2 separate regions of the Homo sapiens genome follow, and region 2 is linked to region 1. Evidence: promoter capture Hi-C in 16 types of primary human blood cells and fetal thymus (Javierre and others, 2016). All regions are on one chromosome and are shown on one strand. The core of a region is centred on a gene start or on the middle of the fragment in contact, and the rest is flanking DNA. Distances in the headings are between cores, read along the strand shown.

The links. Contacts are between HindIII fragments. The CHiCAGO score rates a contact against its expected background, and 5 or more counts as called.
Region 2: a fragment that was not itself captured here is called in contact with the fragment with the promoter of GRAMD1B in region 1 in 1 of 17 cell types (fetal thymus); the score reaches 5.1 in fetal thymus.

The regions. Positions count from the first base shown.
Region 1 is chr11:123,426,614-123,433,203 of GRCh38, reverse strand. GRAMD1B (GRAM domain containing 1B) reads right to left here and starts at 2,935. Exons shown (of 20, transcript NM_001387025.1): 1 at 2,038-2,935. The coding sequence starts at 2,411. It overlaps LOC124902776 (a long non-coding RNA gene), which reads left to right and starts at 1,990. Exons shown (of 2, transcript XR_007062928.1): 1 at 1,990-2,257; 2 at 4,388-6,590. RefSeq lists silencers at 2,308-2,357, 2,468-2,797. The HindIII fragment of the contact is 5,032 bases long and covers 173-5,204 here.
Region 2 is chr11:123,358,295-123,364,884 of GRCh38, reverse strand. It overlaps a transcript of GRAMD1B not described here. Among named protein-coding and RNA genes, the nearest start is that of MIR4493, 20 kb to the left of the region's middle. RefSeq lists a silencer at 6,249-6,358 and an enhancer at 6,559-6,590. The HindIII fragment of the contact is 2,836 bases long and covers 2,438-5,273 here.

The DNA of each region.
Region 1 (6,590 bases), core at 1,686-4,185:
GGTTTCACCATGTTGGCCAAGCTGGTCTCGAACTCCTGACCTCAGGTGACCCTCCCGCCTCACCTCAGGTGACCCTCCCGCCTCAGCCTCCCAAAGTGCTGGGATTACAGGCATTAGCCACCGCCCCTGGCCTGACAAACTACTTTAGTTCAAGGTTAGCTCCCACCAAGCTTGCCCCATTTCCCTCTACTCTGTGAAAAGGGTAGCAGGATGAAGTACCAAACAGAAAGAACTTCTATCCCCAGCGTCCACAAAAATCCACGGAACAAAGCTCTGTATCTGCACCTGCTGAGAGAACCATGCTCAGTTGTTGCAAACAGAAAAGATAAACTCTGGAAGGCCCAAAATGCCCATCTTCTGCATAACGGATCCTACTCCTCAGTCCCCACCCCGCAAAGACACATGGCTCATCCTGTTTCTCCTGCCATTCTTCATATTGTTCCCTTCAGCCAGTCTTATGCACCCAACCTCATTCTTTTCCTGCTGTTTTCTACTACCCATCTGTATTTGTCATGGTGTCAGCCTCTTCCTTCAAGAAGTCTTCCTCTACTTCTCCAGAACTCTCTCTTTTCTAGTACAATCAGTACCACACAGCACAGTATGTTTTCCAATGGCTCCCACAGGTCTTCAATTTTTTTTTTTTTTTTTGAGACAGAGTCTCACTCTGTGGCCCAGGCTGGAGTGCAGTGGCACAGTCTTGGCTCACTGCAGCCCCTGTACCCAGGTTCAAGCGATTCTCTTGCCTCAGCCTCCCAAGTAGTTGGGATTACAGGAGCCTGCCACTACACCCAGCTAATTTTTGTACTTTTAACAGAAATGGAGTTTCGCCATGTTGGCCAGGGTGGTCTCGAACTCCTGACCTCAAGTGATCCACACGCTTCGGCCTCCCAAAGTGCTGGGATTACAGGTGTGAGCCACTGTGCCCAGGTGTTCATTTCTTATACAAGCCTCCCCTCATCTTCCTTCTCAGCCTCTACAACCCCTTACTCTACCTATCCTTCCCCCACACCCTCCTCAACATCACCACTATTAGCTGTTACTAGACTGAGCTCACAGAAATATTCAGTAAGTACTTACTGAATTGAAATCAATGTAATTGAACAGATTTGGAGAAGGAATTCCAGGGAAAGTGATCAATGACTCAGTTGCTCCGCACAAGAACACAAATCCATTAAGAGACAGGACCCTAAAGTCTCAAAGTAAATATGTAGGATTCGTGGTACCGATGAACAAGTGAGGACTCCCTGCCCTCCACCAGGCAAGGGGCTTGGCTCAGACACAACTTCCTGAAGCAGCAGTCCTGACCAGGGCTGTGTAGAGCTGCTCTAGGGCGCCCTGCAGCAATTCTCTACGTGAGGGAAGCTCAACCTTCTCCCATTACCCAGATGCCACATTGACCTAGGCAAAAAACTAGCTGGTACAAACCACAGTCTTGTAGGTATCGATGTCTAAAGACTCTGATATGGTAGGAAATGTGACTCACTCAATGTCAATATTTCACTTCCACACAAGTGAGCCAGTTAAGGCAATCCGGTGTGGCCAAACATAAAATAAGATTGAAACGGAGTCCTGAAATATAAACCACTTAACTGTTCTCTGGCCTTTTACTATCTCCTTCTGTAGAAAGGGAGCCATAGTAATACCTACCTCAGAGAGTTTGCGTAGGGATGAAATCTGGAGGTACATGAAGTGCGCAACATAGTGGCCCGCACATGGTAAGGGCTCAATAACTATTAGCTGTTATTATTTTTATTATTTATTTCGCTGCGAGGATCAAGGGAGATGGAATGCAGCGTAAAGCCCCACGTAAACGTGTCGTGCAACATGAAGCCCCTCACCCTGAGTTGGGGAGCGGGTGGCACGCGTGGAAGCTGAATGCCACCATCCCTGGGACCAGGCGCAGCGCCCTCCAGAAGCGCCTCTGGTGACGGGCTCCTGTTCTCCCCCAGGACGTTTCCCCCAGAATGCCCCGGGGCCCTGGACGGCTCTGGAGAGGACGGGAGGGAAGGGAAGGAGACGGGCGGAACGGGGACGTACCTGCTTTCACTGCACTCCTTCCGCTCCCTCACCCTCAGCCACTTGCGGAGGAGGAAGCGTTTTCGGCGCGGGGACGCGCTGGGTGTGGAGCAGTTGGACCACGGGGTGTCCTCGTCGCTGGAGGGCGTGATCTCGATGGACGGCAGCTGCAGGAACTCCTTGCCGGGGGCCAAGACGGCGGGCAGGTCCCGGGCCAGCCCGGCCTCCAGGCTCTGCTCCTGTACGTTCTTCATGCGGCGCATCTTGAAGCGCCGGCGGCGAAGCGTGGGGGTCGACGAACTGGACCAGACCGGGCTGCCCTCGGGCGCACCCTGCGGCTCGGGCACCTGCAGGGCGGGCAGCGGCCGGTTCTCCATCATGTTGGCCGCCGGCATGGGGGCCGTCGCCTCTGCGCTCCCCCTGAGCCCTCCGCCAGCGGCCTGGTTCGCGTCTCCCTCTGGCTGTTCCCCACCCTCGGCCCCGCGGCACACTCCCCAATCCTGGGGCCGAAGGAACAAGTTCCTTTCCCGGAGCGCAGCGAGGAAGGGACGCGAGGGGACGCGGCGTAGCGCGCCGCCGCCCGGAGTCTAACTTTTCGGAGCGCGCGTCCTCCGGGCCGTCAGCCGCCGGCGAGGCCACCCGGGAGGGGCGGGAGCCGCCTGCCAGCCACTCGGCAGCCCTCCTGGGGCTCCCCTCGCGCGCCCGCTTGTTTTTCTTCCGCTGCGCTTCCTCGCTTGCTGGCGTCTTTGCCTTAGCGGGACTCGGCAGCCAGGGGCCCCAGGGGGCGGTGCAGCAAACTCTCAGCGGTTTGCGTTCAGCAGACCAGGTTGGGGAGCCGGCTTGGCGCTGCAGGGAGGTAGAGAGCGGGAGGAAGAGGCAGTGGTAGGAGGGAAAGGGAGAGAGAGACAGAGAGAGAGAGAGAGAGAGGAAGCGAGACACTGGATAAAAACAAAAAAGGAGGAGGAGGAGCGGGGGCTGGGGGCGGGGTGAGGGGGGCTATCCTGAATGGGCTAGCACTGGCAGCGACCGCTAGTGTAACTGTACACGGATTCCCTCGGGGAGGGACTCGACCTCCAAGTAAAGGCTGCTCCAATCAGCCTACTGAAATAGGATCACAAACCAAACTTTCTCAGGGCAACGATTGGCCAGGCAACTCCCATTAGTCGAACTCGGCTATTTCCTTGGGGGTGGGGGGTGCAGAGAAAGGGGAGTCAATGAATTCAGTCCTCACTCTCTCAGGCCACCCATGATACAGGGTTGAAGGAAAATGAGGAGACTTTTCAACTAGCTCTTGTCTCCTAAGAAAGGCAGTTTAAATTATTTGGGGGCGTGAGTAGTGGCACTGCAGGCCGGAGTATAGTCAGAGGAGGAAAGCAAGGTTGCTGGAGGCTGCTTCCAAAATGACAAGCTGAGAAGAGGACAGTTCTCCCGTGGCGGCGTGAGCTGAGGATACCAGACATGACATACCAAGGAAAGACAGACAACAGGGTCTGAGAGACAAAGGACACAGGACCAGTAAGGAAAATGGGGCCTGAACCCTGTACATGAGCCAGCTGCCAGTACCATAGCCGCGTCCCTAGCAAAGAATGAAATGAGGAGTCGGTGAGCACCCACAAAGCAATGCATCCAACAGAGCCCCAGGGAGTCGAGGGTACCCCCCCTTACATTGCTGAGGGCTGATTCAGTTCTGCTTCAGCCTGCCATGGACTGAGTCACAGAATCCAGTATGTCCCCATGTCATGGAACCTAGGAAGTCTGGTTCAGTCCTGGTAGCATCCCAAGATGTGCTGAACCACACTCACTCTCTAGACCCAGGCCCTAAGAGATCATCAACCCTAGAACCGATCCATCCTATTTAGGTGCTCTCTGTGGGCACTGAGTCTAACCCAGCCCAGCTCCTAGAGCAGGGCTGTAGCAGCCATTCTCCTCCTTCAACCCCAGCCCAATGCATTTGTCTCTTGGGTCAGTAACTGTTTTGTTTTGTTTTGTTTTTAAGAGACAAAGTCTCACTCTGTTGCCCAGGCTGGAGTGCAGTGGTGCAGTCATGGCTCACCGCAACCTTGAATTCCTGGGCTCAAGCTGTCCTCCCAGCTGAGCCTCCTGAGTAGCTGGGAGTACAGGTGCGCACCACCACACGCAGCTAAGTTTTATTTCTTTTTGTCGATATGAGGTCTTGCTATATTGCCCAGGCTGGTCTCAAACTCCTGGCCTCAAGTGATCTGCCCACCTTGGCCTCCCAAAGTGCTGAGATTACAGGCATGAGCCACCATGCCCAGCCTGGTCAGTAACTTTCAAAGAGATCATGAGAAGCACCCAAGAACATACCATGAAGTCCACAATCTGATCCACCCTTCTTTTCTGCCTCTCTCAGAGTCCAGTTTCCATCTGGGAGCCAATGCCCAGCTTCCGTGCCAGGACAAAAGTCACATTTCACAAGTGTCCCGAAGCTGAGGAAAATTCACATCCCTAAAGATCACAAGAATTCACTGCAAGTAAATACATCCCTGCAGTTCAGCAAGACATCAAGGATGACAGCTGGCTATGGATCTACCAAGCTCTGCAATGACACTTGTCAAGTATGGAAAAGCTCAAGGCATCCTGACATTACACAACTTTTGAGAGGCTGGGAAACCAAGGGAAATATTTCTTCCTCAGGGAGAGAGATACTGCGGCTGAAGAGCCAAGGCCAGGCCCTCCCATAAATGACTCCCTGGAATGTCAGCCCCCGTTTCTGAAATCCAGCCACTGGCCCTCTCAGGAGTGATTTGGTTTCACTCTACTTTAACTCCTGGACATAGCACAGAAAGCAGAAACCCCTTGCCATCAGGTGTCAGGCCTGCCAAGGTCACCTCTTCCGGCTCCAGGGATGCTGAGGAGATTGCACTGTAACTCCAAACTTCAGGATCGGGAGCTAAGCCAAGTTCCACAGAGTTTGTTCACTGCCTTGTACTTCCTCCAAGGACGAGTGTTTTGCAAGGGATCTGATAACTTCCCAGTTCAAGGAACCTGAGTTTTGGGCGGGCTCTTGACATAGAAGATGAGGGTCTCAGGGGCTTATGGGAAGAAAGGAAGCCAGGACACCACCATTCGCTTGGAGGCCAAAAACACAAAAGGATGGTCCACAAGACAGGGGCCAGAAGATTCTATGGGCAGCTTGGGAAGAGGGAGAAGAAACAAGGGAGGAAGCTTTAAGTTTGTTCTGGGCACTCTGAATTTAAGTGTATACCTCTTACAAGGAAGAAAAGCCACCAGCACCCTCTTCCCACACACTTCAGCCACTTTTCCCACTCACAGTAGATTCTGGAACTGAAATCCTGTGAGATTTAATTCAAGCCTTGGGCACAGCAGTGGCTAAGAGTGATCATTTACATTTCACCCGGCCTGAGGGAAAACCTCCAAGCAGGAATCTAAAATGTTTCACTTGATTGGGAAGCAGATACCCTGAGCTCTCTTAGCCTGAACGCTGTCCTTACTCACTTGCACCTGCAGTCCCTTCTTTTTTTCAAGCCATAACCCTTTTGACCGTTAAAACCCTGTTCAAAACACATCCTTCAGCCCTTTCCAGCTGTTTCTGTTGCCCATGGCTCTGGCAAGTAAGATAATAAATGAGGCACTGCTTTGAAATATGAAATGCCCTACAGCTGTGAGCCAACATTACTGTTAAGACTATAAGCTCCTTGAGAAAAGAATCAAGTTTCTCCTTCCTTTAATTCTCTCCAGTATCCTGTGCTTGTTATGTGTATGGTGACCTTTACACTTTTGGAAAGAGCTTTCATACATCACACTGTGTCTTCCCAGCGGCCTTTACAATTGATGAAAGTGGGACAGAGAGATTCAGTAGTTTATCCAAGGTCACAGATAAATGATGATGGCTAATCAATGACAAGGCCAGAATTGGAACTCATGCCTTCTGAAGCCAGTTTAGAGGCCTCCAAAAGTGTAGAGAAACAATTTCTCAAAGTAGCTGGTGCCAACATCAGAACCAAAGAGTTTTCATGCCCTGCGTCAGAATCTCAGCGATTGCACTTGCTCCCCAAGTCTCCCCACTCCCATATTTCTTCTCTCCAATATTTGGCTCTCAGCGACCGCACAGTTCTCTGTGAAACAGACCTCACCTTTGCCCCCATTCCCCGCTTCCCCAGACAGGTGGTAACCAGAACAACCCAGCCTCCCCTTTCCCCACCTGCAGCCAGGCCTCTGACTTTAAATGAAAGGAGGTCATATTACCAAGCAACTGTTGTTTATTCTCAGCTGCACAAGCTCCCTTTTCCTACAGACACAAGACACCCAACACCTGTCTATTACTTCTGGAGACTCATAAACTACTATTATTATTCAATTTCCAGGGGAAAACTTTAGTGAAACATAGTAGCTTCCAGACTAGATTTCTCCTGGGTACACATCCAAGTAAATGTGAACTGGAAGGCGCTGGCACCCCGGACACCTTATTGCACCTGCTCCAGGATGCCAAGGCAGGGAACTCCCAAAGACACAGGAATGTCTCCCCACAACACTGTTGTTGCAAGACAGACAATCCCCACTCTCAACACTGGGACACAGAGTCTCTCCCCTAC
Region 2 (6,590 bases), core at 2,606-5,105, 69 kb after region 1:
TTCCAAACAAGTTGAGAAACTCATTTTGCAAATTTTTTTTTTGAAAAACTGGAGCCTGAAGAGGTTCAGGGCCCAAGTAGAGGAGCCTGGGGAAAACACATGCCAAAGCAGCAAAGGAGACAGTCACGTTCAGCTTGTAGGGCTGCCACTGAGAAACATTTCAACTCTGGAGCATGGCTGAGCAGAGAGACCTGAAAGATGGAGCCTTGTATCTGGGAAGCCATACTCTGAAAATGACATAGTAAAGGAAGTTCTGACCTGAGTTTATCTTATTCCTCTTCTTCCTCAACGTGCATAAAAACATTCCTTCGCTTCAAAGCTATGCCAGATGAACTGTCTTAATCAGATAGGCAAGAACAAAGAATGGTGAGAGAAAATGCACACGGATGCCTAATTAGAGGAGGAAAAGGATAGCGGCTTCTGTCTTCCCCTTAATAGACTGTCAATCCTGCCTTTCCTCAGGTCTTTGAACGCACACTCAGATGGCTCATGCCGATGCTCTCAATCGCTCCCTGCGTCAGAGACGAAGATACCTTTTTATAGTCACTGCAGGGAATAGTCTCTGGCTAGTAAGCCTGTTTCATTTCAGAGGGAAAAATCAGCCACTACAAGGCTAGCTGGTAGGAAGAAGCGCTCCTTTCCGAGTCCAACTGTTCCACCCATCGCTCCCTTTGAAGTCAGGCTGACTCAACATCACTCTTTATTGCTATCTAGTCTAGGTACTGAACTTGTAAAAACAGCATTTTAAAGGTTAATAGCTGGGGAATTATATAACCCTTCAATATATAAGGAAAAAGAGCCCATAAATACCCTGTTAAACACAAACACGTGCATGGCAGTGAGAAGCCTTCTGAACAGTCTCACATTTTTACATCCACCCAACCAACCATGTCCGATTGATTGGCCCCCTTAACATGCATTGTTGGTTTTTGTTTTTGTTTTCCTTCAAAAGGATGGTTATGTGCAAACGGGCATGCATTTAATTGCTACTAAATCTTCTGGGACTTAAGGAAGTAAGTCCGTGTCTAAGCCAATAAAATATCATCTGCTTTGTGTTCTCACCAAGTACTAGATGTGCATCATTATGCCAGCTGCCTAAGCACTGTCCCGTCAGCAAAGTACACACCAGCTTCCCTAACCAGGCCAACAAATAGAGTGAGCACCCAAATTCTAAGCAAGGCTTCCACTCAGGGCAAGTTCAGCCAAAGTGAGCCATTTTTAGCCGCCAATGAGATCTCCAAGGAGAACTGAACCATGAGGGCTCACAAAGTCTGGAACCAAACCCAGTGCCAAAAAAAAACAAACAAAAAAAAAGTATGAGAGAGAGTATGAGAGGGGAAATGCTAAGCTCCACCAGAATTCAGTTAACTGGGGTTCTTCCTACTAACAAGCCCAAAAGCCAGAGAACAAGGTTCCTTTCTGACTTCTGCCCACCCTCATCAAAACAGTTCTTTACAGGCGGTTATCAAAGCCCAGGCTTCATGTCTGCCACTCTCTTGAGGATACCTTCTTATCTGATTAAATAGAATATTATGCTAAATATTCAGCCACCCCAGCACTGGTTGTGTGGGTGTGCTGGATAAAATCTTCATGAAAACGCCATCACGGGGTCATTTGTTTAATTTCCATTCTGCAAAATATAAAAATAGAATGAGCTGCCGTGAGGGGTTGAGGCTTGACAGCTTCAATGAGAAGCCTCCAAAGCACAAAAACCACGCTGTTCTGCTGGCTCGCTTGCATTCTCCCTCTGCCAGAGGAAAACGGGGAAGAGAAAAAACCTGAAAGCAAGGTGCTGCTTTCACTTATCTTCTGCTCTTTTCCCCTCTTTGGCCTTTTCTTGCGTTTGCTCGCTGCATCTTCCTCTTGTTCCATCTGTTTCCTCTCCCTCCTCCTCTTTGGCTTGCTTCCTCTCTCCGCCACCCTACCCTCCCCTCCCTCATCATTTCTATGTGTCATTTCTCTTTCTCTCCTTCCCAGGGACTGGTTCTCCTCCCATGCTTCCAGCACCCTCACCAGGGCTGCCCTTGCCTTCCGGGGCAGCCTGTATCTCCAGGTTCGGTGGATCTCACAAACTTTTCTAGGAATTGCTCTCTTCCATCCCTGCCTCTCCCCCTATCCCCTACCCCTTCCCCAAGTCCCAGACATGGAACATATCTAGAAAGATGGGATTTCAGAGTTCAATTAGATTGGATGGCAGATGAGCTGCAAAGATGGCCTTTTTATACTTCCTCATCTAGATTAATATGTTTACTATCCATTGAGCTCAGCAACTCATGGGGTGGGAGAGTAGGTAGGTAGTACATCACTGGTCTTGTGTTTTTGTATAAATCAATTTTTATTTTTATGAAGCTTTTTTAAAAAAATAAATGCAAGTTGCACTCTCCAATTCTGACCCCTGAAGTCCATGGCCACCCCCAAATTAACCCTGTTGCAAGCTTGGCTCAGAAGGGAAAAACTTCTCTTTTACCAGAAGATCCAGAGTTGCACCAAGAGCCCATGAGGGTGCTGACAGGAGAAAGATACTTCCTGTTTTATGCCCATTAGGATCTCAAAAAGGTCTCACCATTTGACCTAGTTTCAAGCCAAAGGATTCAGAGAGTTTTAAGCCAGTTAGAATGGCTGATGAAACCAACACAGTTTAGCTCATTCTGTATGCCTGGTATATGCCTAGAATGGGTTATTCACCTGTGATGCTCATGAACAACTAGAGATATTCCTCTCCCCTACTGTGGATCACCAGCAACTTTCTGAAGACAACATTGCTGTTGGTTTAAGGAACACCTAAGAGGAAAGATGGTTAACAGACCACTATGTCACAAATTCATCAACGTCAACCCATTCCAGAAAAGTATTTAAATATCTTATAGATCTGTGTATGAGGCTGCTGCCAAGTGGTCCACCAACTAATAAATTCTATTCTCATGCCTACCAAATGAGGCTTTAATAAATTAAGGTGACCCTCATAAGACCATGTGCCTACTTACCATCCCGTTTCCTAAGATACTTTCTCTCTCTCTTTCTCTTTCTCTGCAGTAACACTGTTGCCACTCCTCCTGCCTGTTATTGGCAACGTCCATTCATTATGCAGATGTGCAATGCAGACCCACCAGGTATGAAGCAGAGCAGATACTGGAGTACACCTTGGAAGTCAGAGTCTGTATACACCACAATAAAGGGTATATGGAACTCTTACAGCTAAAATATATGTGCAGTGTTTCTGGTTTGTACATATCGGGGCACTGGATCAAATCAAGGAATGAAGGCTTTTATTACCATTTGAAGAATGACCGTGCCTAGACAGGAAAAGAAATGTGTTTCCTGATGCACCAGTCCACAGTTGCAAGACGGAGAAAGGAGAAGAAGAAAGTAAAAATCTTGATCAAGCTGAAAGATCCATGAAAAGTAAGAGTATGAAGTGCAGCAGACACCCCAGGAGAAAGTGACCTCTTCTGCAGGGCAAGCAGAATGGGTGACAATTCCTAGCAGTGTTGTAAACAGCAGCCCAAAGACACAAACACTGAAAACTACATGCCACCTGTGCAAAAGCAGCCGACAGTTGGAGCAGCACAGTGGAAACACCTCTGGAGTGCAGCTGCAGACCTAGGGCTGGTGATTTCAGTGACAAGCATACATATTACAGATGTGTGTATTGAGAGGGCCCACCAGTGAGCTAATCTGCAAGGACATCAAATGACTACTATGGTGGAAAAGCAAAGGCTGGAAGGAGATGGCAGGGACAAATGCCATCTCCTTAGAAGGATGTGATTTCAGCCAGGCGCAGTGGCTCACGCCTGTAATCCCAGCACTTTGGGAGGCTGAGGTGGGTGGATCACAAGGTCAGGAGTTCGAGACCAGCCTGGCCAACATGGTGAAACCCCATCTCTAGTAAAAATACAAAAAATTAGCTGAGCATGGTGGTGGGCGCCTGTAATCCCAGCTACTCGGGAGGCTGAGGCAGGAGAATCACTTGAAACCGGAAGGCGGAGGTTGCAGTGAGCCCAGATTGCACCACTGCACTCCAGTCTGCACAATAAGAGCGAAACTCCATGGAAGGAAGGAAGGAAGGAAGGAAGGAAGGAAGGAAGGAAGGAAGGAAGGAAGGAAGGAAGGAAGGAAAGAAGGAAGGAAGGAAGGAAAGAAGGAAGGAAAGAATGTGATTTCATTTCAGGCCTATGATCATTGAACACAGCTGATCAGGCAACCAAATAGGGCACTCACTTTTTGTGACAATGTCAAATTGGCACCCCAGCTTGGCTAGGTATTGATCAGTTGCTCATAATGGTTTCCTTCCAACACTATCACCAAAGCACAGCCCCAAATCTCCAAAACCAAACAGCTTTTGAGCACGGACGGAAAAAACTAAAACTACCACACGCCCTTTTGAGACCTGGATCTCTTGAACACCAGTGACGCCCAGCAGAACTCTTCATCCAAATTGCAAGGTGAGGATGAGATCTCCTAAGCAAGTTACAAATAAATACGCCAAAGGAAAGAGCCTTCGGGCAAACACTAGAAACCTCGCTGTACACCATCAAAGGCAACTAAAGCTCTAAGCTGCAGTGAAGGTCCCATAAATAGGAACATTCAGTACAAGCAAGAGACATGATCTTCAAGTAAGGAACAAAGGCAGGAGGCATAGTTGAATAGAGGGAATAAGAGTTACATGTCTACACTTTCCTATCTAACCTCCTAAATATTATTAAATGAAAGAGAGAAGAGAGAGAGATCGGTGTGTGTTACACTGGGAAGCAGGAGTGCCTCTCTTTGACTGTATCTGTTCCACAGTGAGATTCTATATCAGCTTAGGAGTATAGTGGGACCTTGGGGTAGTGTGTAGAAATGTAGCATTTTCAGCCTATTTCTACTATTCAGTTTCCTGAACTCCAAGAGAGAGCCCCAGCTGAGATCCGCCCCTCCCCAAAAGTTCCCAGGAGAAGGGCTCCTCATCCATAAAACACTAAAAATACTATTTGTATCTCCAAAAGGTGATGTACCCATGTAGGCGTTGGCAGAGGAGAAAGCTCAGCCCCCTGCACAAATTTCTTTGTCCTTGCCCAGAGTAGTGGGAGTTTTACATCTGCTGCTGTCATGAAACATTTTATTATTTTTTACAAGCCTTTTTAAAAATTATTATTTCCTAGGAGGAAAAAAAATCTAGAGATTTGCCAAGCGTTCGCGATATGTACAATCCTCCCACCCTACCCCTCTTCAATACTGGGCCTTGGGTGGAGTTGTCCTTCACAATTGCTCCAGGCCCACTAGAAACTAAAGCTTGGGGGCAGCAAGCAGCTGTTTGTTCATGTTACCTTGGCGCCTGCATATCCTGCTGAGGAACTTTTTGAGGAATGAAGTTTATCCAGGCATGAGGTTGGCTGATGGGTGCAAACAAGTTGTTTGGGCTCTAAAAACTTCATTCTAATGACCACACCTTCTCATTCCTTCATCTACTCCACAAGAGTAACTCTATTTCCTCTGGGATGGAACCTCTCACTTCCACCCTCAGAGGAAACGAGAAGCAGAGCCTCTTCCTCGTCTCCCTAGGTACCCCCATGATGTACACTTTGTCTTTTTGCCAAATCTCGGACTTCTACCATGCAAGCAGAATAGGCGTAAGACTGATGGGGCAGCCAGGTAGGGAGATGGCAGCACTGCCCAGAACAAGGGAAGCCAGTGCTTCCAGTTCAAACTTTTGCCAGCAAGATAGAGAGGAGGAGAGGCAATCTCCATGCTCAACCAACCCTGTCCTCTCTACCTGTTCTGTGCACGTCTCCAGTACTGAATGGAGAAGGAAGCCAGCTCCGCCACCTCCAGAAATTCATGGAGGAGATAATCTATCTATCTCAGTGGTTTCCTGGGGACACAAACTCTCAGGTGAGGGACACCTCAGCCAAACCATAATCCATGTTAATAGCTTTACCTGGCCCTCAGGTAACTTTGATGTTTCACTAAGAAAATTCCGATGTAACAGCACCCCTACCCCCCACTCCAGTGTTTCCACAGCCTCCAGTTTCACCCGGATCCCTCACCATCACTCGGCATCCATGTGTGTTCCTCCTAGGGCTCAGGAAGGTCAGGAAGTTCTTACCTGGATCTGCTGGGAGAGGCACTCATGTGGACACCCGGTTCGGGCGCGCGGCGGTCAGCGGCGTCCACGGCACACCAGCTGCTGGCTACTGCTCACCACGTCTCCCCGCGAGCCTGGCTTTGCAAAGAGGAGAGCCAGTCCCATCTGGAGGAGGGGAGGAGGAGCGCGGAGCCTGAGGACACCCAAACCCGAGCGGCGGGGTCGTGCTGGAGCCCGGCTCCACGCACTCGCGCTGCGCCCGGGCGCGCTGCACCCTCGGAGCCGGGACGGCCGGCTGCGCCCAGGCGGGGCGGGAGCCGCTGGGGCGGGAGGAAGCGGAACTCCCCCGCTCTCCGTGGGCTCGGAGCTCCCACTGTCTCCGAGGCTAGGTGTCACCGCACCGTGTTCCCTCTTTCTCTCTGTACACTAATATTGGCCCCTCCCTGTGCATCTACGTTTCTTCAGTGTCGGCCCTGACTCTACCTCTGTGGTTTCCGCTCCTGTCTCCCGCTCGCCGGTCTTGGTC